3 separate regions of the Homo sapiens genome follow, and regions 1 and 2 are each linked to region 3. Evidence: promoter capture Hi-C in human tissues and cell types (Jung and others, 2019). All regions are on one chromosome and are shown on one strand. Each heading gives the region's core, a stretch centred on a gene start or on the middle of the fragment in contact. The rest is flanking DNA. Distances are from core to core; before and after follow the strand shown. Region 1 holds the start of SYMPK (symplekin scaffold protein). Region 2 holds the start of NAPA (NSF attachment protein alpha). Region 3 holds the start of AP2S1 (adaptor related protein complex 2 subunit sigma 1).

Evidence for each region. Contacts are between HindIII fragments. The study calls those that stand out against the background at their distance.
Region 1: a contact is called between the fragment with the promoter of SYMPK here and the fragment with the promoter of AP2S1 in region 3, in 1 of the 25 tissues and cell types used here (dorsolateral prefrontal cortex).
Region 2: the fragment with the promoter of NAPA here is called in contact with the fragment with the promoter of AP2S1 in region 3 in 1 of the 25 tissues and cell types used here (dorsolateral prefrontal cortex).

Annotation. Positions count from the first base shown.
Region 1 is chr19:45,861,470-45,865,030 of GRCh38, forward strand. It overlaps SYMPK (symplekin scaffold protein), which reads right to left and starts at 1,678. Exons shown (of 27, transcript NM_004819.3): 1 at 1,589-1,678. It overlaps FOXA3 (forkhead box A3), which reads left to right and starts at 2,857. Exons shown (of 2, transcript NM_004497.3): 1 at 2,857-3,056. The coding sequence starts at 2,988. RefSeq lists enhancers at 703-1,341, 1,593-2,002 and a silencer at 2,643-3,052. The HindIII fragment of the contact is 22,327 bases long and covers 1-3,561 here.
Region 2 is chr19:47,513,548-47,516,941 of GRCh38, forward strand. It overlaps NAPA (NSF attachment protein alpha), which reads right to left and starts at 1,516. Exons shown (of 11, transcript NM_003827.4): 1 at 1,296-1,516. The coding sequence starts at 1,393. RefSeq lists a silencer at 1,465-1,804 and an enhancer at 1,895-2,164. The HindIII fragment of the contact is 27,973 bases long and covers 1-3,394 here.
Region 3 is chr19:46,849,029-46,852,505 of GRCh38, forward strand. AP2S1 (adaptor related protein complex 2 subunit sigma 1) reads right to left here and starts at 1,818. Exons shown (of 5, transcript NM_004069.6): 1 at 1,736-1,818. The coding sequence starts at 1,738. RefSeq lists an enhancer at 1,833-2,142. The HindIII fragment of the contact is 18,087 bases long and covers 1,128-3,477 here.

The sequences.
Region 1 (3,561 bases), core at 428-2,927, 990 kb before region 3:
GTGACTCACGCCTGTAATCCCAGCACTTCGGGAGGCGGAGGCAGGTGGATCACGAGGTCAGGAGTTCAAGACCAGCCTGACCAACATGGTGAAACCCCATCTCTACTAAAAATACAAAAATTAGCCAGGCGTGGTGGTGTGCCTGTAATCCCAGCTACCTGGGAGGCTGAGGCAGGCGAATTGCTTGAACCTGGAAGGCAGAGGTTGCAGTGAGCCGAGATCACGCCACTGCACTCCAGCCTGGGTGACAGAGTGAGACTCTGTCTCAAAAAAAAAAAAAAGGAGCCTACACAGGCCGAGTTTGGTGGCTCAGGCCTGTAATCCCTGCACTTTGGAAGGCTGAGGTGGGCAGATCACTTGAGGTCAGGAGTTCAAGACCAGCCTGGCCAACACAGAGAAACCCCGTCTCTACTAAAAATATAAAAATTACCTGGGTGTGGTGGGGCACGTTTGTAATCCCAGCTACTCGAGAGGCTGGGGTGGGAGAATCACTTGAACCAGGGAGGTGGAGGTTGCAGTGAACTGGGATCGTGCCAGCCTGGGCGACAGAGTGAGACCCTGTCTCAAAAAAAAAAAAAAAGAAAAAGCATATACAATAAACACCAACCTCCACTTCACTTGTTTTCCCTTAATATATGTTGGAGGCCACTATATCAGTGTATAGAGATTTTCATCATTTCCTTTTATCTACCTCATTCCTTTTTAGAGTTGCATAGTATTTTTTATGTGGATGTATTATAGTTTCTTTCAGCCAATCTTCTTATTTAAGAACATTTGGGATGCGTGTAGCCTTTTGCTATGATGAACAGTATCACTGTTTCCCCTTCCCTCTCGATGTACTCGTTAAGAAGTGGTACCCTGCCCCACTGCTACCTAGGAATCTGATGACTACCCTGTTTCCCCAAACTGGCTCTAGGAGTATCTTTTATTCCTTCAACGAACATTAGCTGGGCGTCTCCGGCGTGATTGGCGCTGTGCTGAGAACACAGTGGCGACAGAGACAAACCTAGTCCCTACCTTCATGGAACACACGGTCATAGACATCATAAAACAGCACACAGATAAGAGTCGGATAACAAATTAGACCACACGTGACATGAAGGAACACGGACCGACAAAAGCATTTAACAGGCGGATTTCTGGATGGAGGGCAGGGAAGGAGGGCTTCGCAGAGGAAGTGACGTTGGTGCCGAGACCCGAAGGATGAAATGGGAGTTAGCCAAGCCGAATGGGTAAAAGGATGTTGCAGGCAGAAGGGACAGCCTGTGCAAAATCCCCGAAGCGGGAAAGCGCATGGCAAGTTTAAGGAACCGAAAGGCCAGGGCGGCTGTTAGAGGTGGGGGAAAAAGCAAAGAGGCCGAGTCGAAGCAAGCGAGGTCTGCGGGGCGGTGGCGCCCGGGGGGCCACGTTGGAACTTTGCCTCGAGGGCACTAGGGAGCCAAGGAAGGGTCCTGAGCAAGGGAAGAAACATGGGTCGCGAAAGCCACTGTTCCCCTCTCCCCACGGCGATGCCCTCCCCGCCCGAGCCCCTGCTTCTTTAGGAGCCTCCTCCTTTCGTCTCCGGGCCCAAACGCCGCCTCCCGCTCACCGCAGCTCTGGCCTCCGTTCCCCTCGCGCCCCCTCAGCAGTGCCTCTTCCTACACTCCGCCGCCGCCGCCGCCGCCATCTTCCGTTCGTCGCCGGGAACGGTGCGCACGCGCCACACACCCAGGGCCGCCGGGAAATGGAGTCCAGAGCACAGCCCGACCCCGCCCATGCCTCGTCCCGTGCGAGCGGCATTCTGCCCGCCTCCATACTACGGCGAGCAGACCCTTCATTTCCGGCTCTGGGTCCGGCTAGGCCTTCTGGGAAATGTAGTCCCTTCGGAGGCACCGGGCGGAAAGGGAGCTAGAGCATTCTGGGAAATGGAGTTCTCAGTGGTGCTGAGTCCCTGGACGGCTGGCTGGTCTTGGAGAGTGCGGAGTTCGGGCAGCGAAGCTCCTGGGTCTTGGAGGGGAGGTGGTCTGTTGCCCTAGTGGGGTCTGCGGAGAGGCCCCGATCCCCTCCATCTTTGTTCTTGACCCTTTCAACAGTCTGAAGCATTTCTTTTTCTTTTCTTTTCTTTCTTTCTTTTTTTTTGGAAACGGAGTCCCGCTCTCTCTCCCAGGCTGGACTGCAGTGGCGCGATCTCGGCTCACTGCAACCTCCGCTTCCTAGGTTCAAACGATTCTCCTGCCTCAGCCTCCCGAATAGCTGGGATAACAGGCACGCACCATCACGCCTAGCTAGTTGTTGTATTTTTAATAGAGATGGGGTTTCACCCTGTTGGCCAGGCTGGTCTCAAACTCCTGACCTCAAGTGATTCGTCCGCCCGCCTCGGCCTCCTGCAGTGCTGGAATTACAGGCGTGAGCCACCGCGCCCGGCCAAGTTAAGCATTTCTAGCCGTCGGAAGCCTCAGTCTTCCTGTCTGTCCAATGGGGATGTGATTTCGGGGACCTTTTACGGGTCCTTGTAGTCGCATAGTGGCCCTAGCGTTCTGATTCCCCTTTCTTCCGCCACGGTCATGCAGGGCTCTGGCTCTTCGTCCTCTCCTGCCGAGATGATGAAGCCCCCTGAGGTAGAAAGGCTCCAGAGTTCTGACCTCGGGGCCCTTGGTATCTGCAGCGTCGCTGCGGGCAGCTCCCTCACTCCTGAATCACCCCCAGCTGTCGCGTCCTGGGGCTGCGGCCCCCGGCGCCTGAGGTCTGTCTCCTGGCGATCCCGCAGGGGGCGCCCCAGTCCGAGCGCGCCGCCCTCGGGGAGGCGGGAGGGGAGCCCGGGGCGGGCGAGGGCGGGGGTGTCCCGGCTATAAAGCGTGGCCGCCTCCCGCGGCGCTCGGGACAGCCGTACCCCGGGCGGTCGGACGGGCGGGCGCCGGTGGGAGCTCGGGCCGTGCCCGCTGAGAGATCCAGAGCGCTCCGTTCCCCCGGGGCCGGAGCGGGGGCGGGTGGGGGCGTAAGCCCGGGGGATGCTGGGCTCAGTGAAGATGGAGGCCCATGACCTGGCCGAGTGGAGCTACTACCCGGAGGCGGGCGAGGTGTGTCCTCGGGGATGGCGGAGCGGGAAGTTGGGGGCAGGTATCGGGGTGTGGGCTCACATGGAGCAGGGACTGGTTGTGGGTTCAAATGGAGGCAAAGGCGTCTACTTGGGCAGCTGAGGAACTGGGAACACGGAGACCAGGTGTGGAAGTCGGGGACCGGGGACGAGGCATGGATGGGAGCGCTGTTTGGGCAGCCTCGCCGCGGCCAGGGCTTAAAAATGGAAGTCAGGAAAATTTAGCCAAGGGTCGGGTCACACCTTAAACTTGGGAGCCGGGTGTTGGAGCCCCAAAAAGCAAGGGATTTATATGTACAAACCAAAGATAGGAATCAGAGTTCCAGGGTAGGGGACAGACTAGGGGGTTTCAGGATGTGAGGTTCAAAGTTGGAGGGAAAGAAAGACTAAAAGATGGAGGAGGAGTCACCATTAAGGGGAAGACTGAGGTGGGAGCTCAGGGCCAGCACACAGTGTTAAAGAACCGGGGTTCGGGGCTAAGGATCAGC
Region 2 (3,394 bases), core at 266-2,765, 660 kb after region 3:
ATTTATCACAGGATGGTCGTGTCAGCTTTTAGGAGCTAACGTGAGTTTTATGCCACGTCATATGTGTTAGTTCTGTCTCCCAGGCCTTTTCCCATCCCTCTTCTCAGCATGTCTCTGTCATCCCTATTACTCGAGGATCACACAGCAGGAATTTGATCCCCCGTTTTGGTTCTCTCAGTCCCCCTGTCTCTCCCTGTTATCCCTCCATCTCCTTGGCCAAGCCACCACCACGCATTCCCCCACCCAGGAGTCTCCAGCCTCAACCCAGGCCTCCTCAGGCTTTTTTCTTTCTTTCTTTCTTTTTTTTTTTTTTTTTTTTTGAGACAGAGTCTCGCTCTGTCCCCCAGGCTGTAGTGCAGTGGCTCGATCTCGGCTCACTGCAACCTCTACCTCCGGGTTCAAGTGATTCTCCTGCCCCAGCCTCCCGAGTAGCTGGGATTACAGGTACCCGCCACCAGGCCCAGATAACTTTTGTATTTTTAGTAGAGACGGGGTTTCACCATGTTGTCCAGGCTGGTCTCGAACTCCCCGCCTCAGATAATCTGCCCACCTCGGCCTCCCAAAGTGCTGAGACCTCCACAGTCTTGACTCCATCATCCCGGGTTCCTCCGTTCAGCTGTCCTTAAACTAGTCACTGCTAACCAGGGCCGTACTCACCCCATGCACCCCCCACACTTCAGACGCGGCTCACCGCTCCTAGGATCATCTAGCCCTGAGCCCCTCTGCCTGGTGTCAGCCCCCTTCAGCCTTCACCCTCACCGCCCAGGGCCCACGCAAATCCACTGCTCCAGGGGTTGAAAAGGTCAGTCCCTCGGGCAGGCGTCCTCAGCCCCAGGCCCCATCACTGCCGCCTGAGAGCCTTCAAACAGACTCCCCTAGAGCTCCGAAAAGCCTCTGGACCTGGCTTCTCTCCCGGACTCCCTCCGTCCCCCCAGGCCGGTCCCCTCCAAGGCTTCAGGACGTACTCCCTCGGTCCAGGTTCTCCCCCGCCCGCTGGCCTGTCTTCGGCCTGGGTCCCCTTCCTCGCCTCAAGATAGTGTCGCCTCGGTCCGTGTGTCCTCAGCCCAAATCCCTTCCGCCATGTCAGACCGTCTCTCCTCAAACCGTGTTGCCCCGGCCCAGGCTCTTGGCCCTCAGCCTGCGTCCCCTCTGCCGCCTCAGGCCATGTCACCTTATTGCAGGTTCCTCTCCGTCCCCTCGGCCCGAGCTCTGCGTGCCCTAACCCGCCACCTCCGAGCGTGACTCCTTCGTCCTCTCAGCCTAGGTCCCGGCCGACCCCTCAGCCCGGTTCTCACCCAAAGAGGCCAGAGAAGAAGGACTGCGAGTTCTTCACTTTGCGCTCCGCCTCGGCCAACAGCGCCATCGCCTCCGCTTCCTTCCCGGAATTGTCCATGGCGGCCACAAAGGGACTCAGCAAAGCGCCTGACCCTGACCCTGGGAAGACTCAGCCGCGGCCGGGCCGCGGAACACAGATCGGTAAAACTCGCCCGGCTGCGTTGACGTCGCACCGGCGCGCGTCGCTTGCGGCCAGGAACCACGTGACTAGCGCTGGCCAACCAGCGGCCTCGTAACGCCGCGCCCGCTCCGCCGGACACGCCCCCACCAGCCGCCGCACGCCGCCCGTGACTCGTGACCCCCCAATCGGCGTCAAGAGACCTCAACGCATGCGCACATACCGGCGAACGGCGCTCCACTCTCTCCCCAGCGCTCTGTACCTCACCTCCCACGTGACCCTGTGGAAGGCAATGGCAGTACCCCCCGCCGAGGCCCCGCCCCACGGTGTTGCTGCTGGATCCTCCTCCACCAATCAGCAGGAGCCCTCGGCTCGCGCTGGGGCGGGGGGTCCCCCACTCGCCCTCCCCGCGGAACTCTGGCACAGTCAGCTGACCGCAGACACTCACGTGACAGCTCGGGGCCCACGCCCGGGTTTGACAGTTCTGCGCAGAACTTAGTCCCGCCCCCGCGGCTGGTCTCGCCGGTTTCTTCACTTGGAAAGGCGTTTGTGGGAAAAGGAAACCGTTCTGCTTTTTCTTGCTCCCTCTGTCGGCCAGTACTAGAACTGCTTTGGGGAGACCGGTGAAGAGAGACTGCAAACAAAAACTTAAGAGGTTCTCTAACTCTGGTTTCATAAAAAATAGCTGAAGAGGGCCGGGCACGGTGGCTTACGCCTGTAATCCCAGCACTTTGGGAGGCCGAGGCGGGCGGATCACTTGAGGTCATGAGTTTGAGACCAGCCCGGCCAACATGGCGAAACCCCGCTCTACTAAAATACAAATATTAACCGGGTGTGGTGGCACACTCCTGTAATCCCAGCTACTGAGGAGGCTGAGAGAGGAGAATCGCTTGAACCGGGGAGGTGGAGGTTGCAACGGGCCGAGATCGTGCCACTGCACTCCAGCCTGGGCGACAGAGTGAGACTTAGTCTCAGAAAAAAAAAAAAAATAGCTGAAGAGAGCGTGTTAAAAAAAAATTCAGATTCGAAGATGGGCGCGGTGTCTCGTGCCTATAATCCCAGCTACTCGGGAGGCGAGAGGATCGCTTGGGCCCAGGAGTTTGAGTCTAGTTCAAGTCCCGCCTTGGGCAACATAGCAAGACTCTGTCTCTAAAAAAAAAAGTTTAGGCTCAAACACACCTCCTGCTGTCCCAGAAAATTGAGTTGCTGGTTTCTGAGACAGGGTCTCACTCTTTGGGTTGTTGGTTTTGGAGACAGGGTCTCGGTCTGTCGCCCAGGCTGGAGTGCAGCAGCACAATCATAGCTCACCTCAGTATAACTTTGTAGTGCCAGAAAGGAAGGAAGTATTCCACACGTGTGCTCACACACAAAATTAGGGGGTATGCCAAAGGAGCCAACTGAAAGAACTCCCAATGGCCAAAGCTGGAACAATTTGAGCATCAAAATAAAGTAGTATTGGATTATAATCCCAAACATAAAGTATCCATGAGCCTATGGTCATATAGATGAATATAGAACAAATAAATAAAGGGGGGAGAATAGACAAATAGTTTGTGCAGAAGAATTCCAAATAATCTGCGTAGATACTCTGCTCTCAAGAAGGTGAAGGATACCTCCCCATTCTGTAAGTATGGACTGTGCATAGTGACTTCCTTTCAAAGAAGAGGGTACAAGAAAGGGGAGAAAAAGCCTAAATTTACAGTGGAGAAACCTGACATTGACATCTAGGTGATTGAGGTTAACCTCAACATTGATAAGTCATGTGATTAAAATGGCTCTTTACTTCTGGGATCTTTCAATCTAATCATGAAAAAAACACTAGACAAATTCCAGTTGAGCCACATCCTCCAAAATACTTGCCCAGTACTCCTCAACACTGTTGGTGGGTGCAGTGTGTCACATCTGTAGTCCTGGTACTTTGGGAGGCCAAGGCAGGAGGAT
Region 3 (3,477 bases), core at 568-3,067:
TTGAGACAGAGTCTCACTCTGTCGCCTAGGCCAGTGGCACAATCTCGGCTCACTGCAGCCTCTGCCTCCCGGGTTCAAGCGATTCTCCTGCCTCAGCCTCCCAAGTAGCTGGGATTACAGGCATCCACCACCACACCTGGCTTATTTTTGTATTTTTAGTAGAGACGGGGTCTCACCACGTTGGCCAGGCTGGTCTCGAACTCCTGACCTTATGTGATCCGCCTGCCTCAGCCTCCCAAAGTGCTGGGATTACAGGCATGAGTCACCGCCCCAGCCTGAGAGTCTTTCCTAAGCCTCATTCTCCACACACTCTATCCTCCCTCCCCCAACCAACCAAACTGGACCGGAACAGGATGTTACACTCTCCTTCCAAGAACTCCTGCTGAGCCAGGGAAAACCACTTCCTAGCAGGGCAGGGGTCCCAGGCAGGAAGGGACGTTGGGGGGCCTACACCAGGCAGCCACAGCCTGGGAGCAGAGCCGGAGACATATTCACACAGTTAGGAGAACTAGAAGCAAACCCACAGAGTTGACAAAAAGCTCTGCCTCTTACTCCCAAATTCCCTTGTATACCTCTCCCTGTTTTCTTCCCATTTGGAATCTCAAGTCCCCTCCGTCCTGAATCTCTGCATCCTCACGCCTCTGCTGTCCCCTCTAGATGCCCCCCAACCTTCCCTGTCTCCAATCCCCCTCCTCTGGAGTTGTTCCCTTTTGACCTCCACTTTCTCAGTCTCAGTTCCCCTCCTTGGGGCCTCAATGGGCTTTTTACTGGTGACATCCCTTGTCCCACTCCCAAGCTTCCTCCCTTCTTCAAAAGGTCACATTTTGCCTCCAAGGACCCTGTTCCTGGAGGAGACTCCGCCCCCGCTCTGACACTCTTTCTCATTCGTTTTCTTTCCCAACTTCCAGCCCAAAGAACCCTTTCCTAGATCCAAAGCCCCAACCTGGGGGATAGGGGCACTCCTAAATCCAATGTTGAGTCTTTGCCCCAACAAAGATTCCTCCCCAGGTCTCACACTTTCAAGCCTACTCCCCACCCCACAAGATCTCTCCTCTTGGAAAGACCTATTCAGTTGCTCCCCATTCTTTCCGAGTGTCCATCTTACCTCCAGGTCCTCTCTCCTTTTACAGCGCTTTCCCAGACCCTTAAGTTTCATTCCCTACAGTTGCCTCCTTTTGGTTTCCTGTGCCAGGTCTCTTCTTGAGATCATCCCTCTCTCACAGGCAGTCTCCTGCCCCTGTCTCAACATCCCCTCTCCACCTGCAATCAGATCCTTGTCTCTAGAGACTCCTCCCATCAAGAAAACCTCCCTCCCCTTTTCCAAGGTCTCGCGTTCTCGTCCCAGCGCTCCCGCCACACTTCCAGAGCGCCTTCCTCTTTCGGACGCCCTCTCCCCACCTCCAATGCCTTCTCGCTACCCACAAGACTGTGTCTCACGAGTTTCCTCTCGTTTCAAAGCTTCCAACCATCTACAACGTTTCCCACCTGCACAGCCCTTTCCCCTTGGAACACCACCCCCAATGCCCGTCGCCGCGAGACCCCTGGTAACCCCCGCGCGCAGAATCACCGCCCTGTGCCCTCCTTCCCGGCCCTGGATCGGTCCCAATCCCCAGAGCCCGCGCCTGACCCAGACCATCCGCGGCAGAGAAGGGACTTGTCAGCGCCCGATCCAGCCTCGGCTATTTACGCGTGGGCCCCCCCTCCGCCAGTCCCCGGCGTAGCGCTCCCCCGTTACCATGGCGACCCCCGTCCAGACCCCAGCGGCCCCGGTCCCGCGGCGACTGGGCAGCTCCGGCTCAGGGTGCAGTTGTAGGGCCCAGAGCTAGAGCGGACTTCCGGTAGAAAAACCCGCCTGCCTTCTCGCGCACAGACCCCTGGGAGTTGTAGTTTCACCAAAGGGGCCAGCCTGGGTGAAGATGGGTGAAGAGTCAGAGCCAGTCCTTTTCCTACCAAACGAGTCAGATCCCAAGTGCATGCTGGGATTTGTGGACAAACATCTTTACAGAGGACTACAATTCCCGAGATGCTGAAGAACCAGCGGTGAAGGCGTTGCATTCAGGGAAATGTAGTTCTCTTAGGTCCCCTCCCCCCACCCAGGGGAGAAGGGCATGCTGGGAATAGTAGTTTTAAATTTTAAAAAACTGTCCTGGGGAGATAGAAAATGTCTTTCCATTCCTCATCCAGTGATTTCTTTAATTTTTTTAAAAATAGAGACAGGGGTCTAGATATATTGCCTAGGTTGATCTCGAACTCAGCTTCAAGCGACCCTCAGCCTTCCAAATCACCAGGATTACAGGCATGAGCCACCACAACACCAAGCCAGTGTTTTGCTTAAAATACGTTGCGTGTGTCTCTCGGGAGACAACAGTTTAAAAGCATAAATTTGAACCGGCCCGGCGCGGTGGCTTACTCCTGTAATCCCAGCACTTTGGGAGTCCGAGGCAGGCAGATCACTTGGTTAGGAGTTCGAGACCAGCCTAGCCAGCATGGCGAAACCCCATCTCTACTAAAAATACAAAAAATTAGCCAGGCATGGTGGTGCGCACCTGTAGTCCCAGCTACTCGGGAGGCTGAGGCAGGAGAATCACTTGAAGCCCGGAGGCAGAGGTTGCAGTGAGCCCAGATCTCGCCACTGCACTCCAGCCTGGGCAATAGAGAGAGACTCCAAAAAAAAAAAAAAATCTCTAGTTTGGCGGGGGCATGATGGCCCATGCTTGTAATCCCAGCACTTTGAGAAGCTGAGGTGGGTGGATCACCTAAGGTCAGGACTTCGAGACCAGCATGGCCAACACGGTGAAACCATTTCTACTAAAAATATAAAAATTAGCTGGGTGTGATGGCAGGTGCCTGTAATCCCAGCAACTCGGGAAGCTGAGGCAGGAGAATTGCTTGAACCTGGGAGGCAGAGGTTGCAGTGAGCCGAGATCACACCATTGCACCCTAGCTGGAATGACAAGAGCGAAACTCTGTCAAAAAAAAAAAAAACCCTCCAGGTCAGCAGTTAGTTTAGTGTTTTTTTGGTGTGTCTTTGTTTTTGCTTTTTTCTGAAAGAGGGTCTCCCTTGGTCACCCAGGCTGTAGCGCAGTGGCATGATCTCAGCTCACTGAAGCCTCAACCTGCTGGGCTCAAGTGATCCTCCCACTTCAGCCTCCCGAGTAGCTGAGACTACATACACATGCCGTCACACCTGGCTAATTTTTTGTACTTTTTGTAGAGACAGGGTCTTGCTATGTTGCCTAGGCTGCTCTTGAACTCCTGAGCTCAAGCGATCCTCCCTCCTCCACCTCCCAAAGTATTGAGATTACAGGCGTGATTTTTTAAATGGCCTTTATTACATTTTAAAAATTATTTTATTTGCCCTATGAGTATGTGTGTATGTTTGTCTAGATCTCTCATTAGGTAGTGAGTTGTTGAGGGCAGGGACCCTGTCTGATAACTGTATCTTCATTACCTAGAACATGACAGATGGTAAGCAGT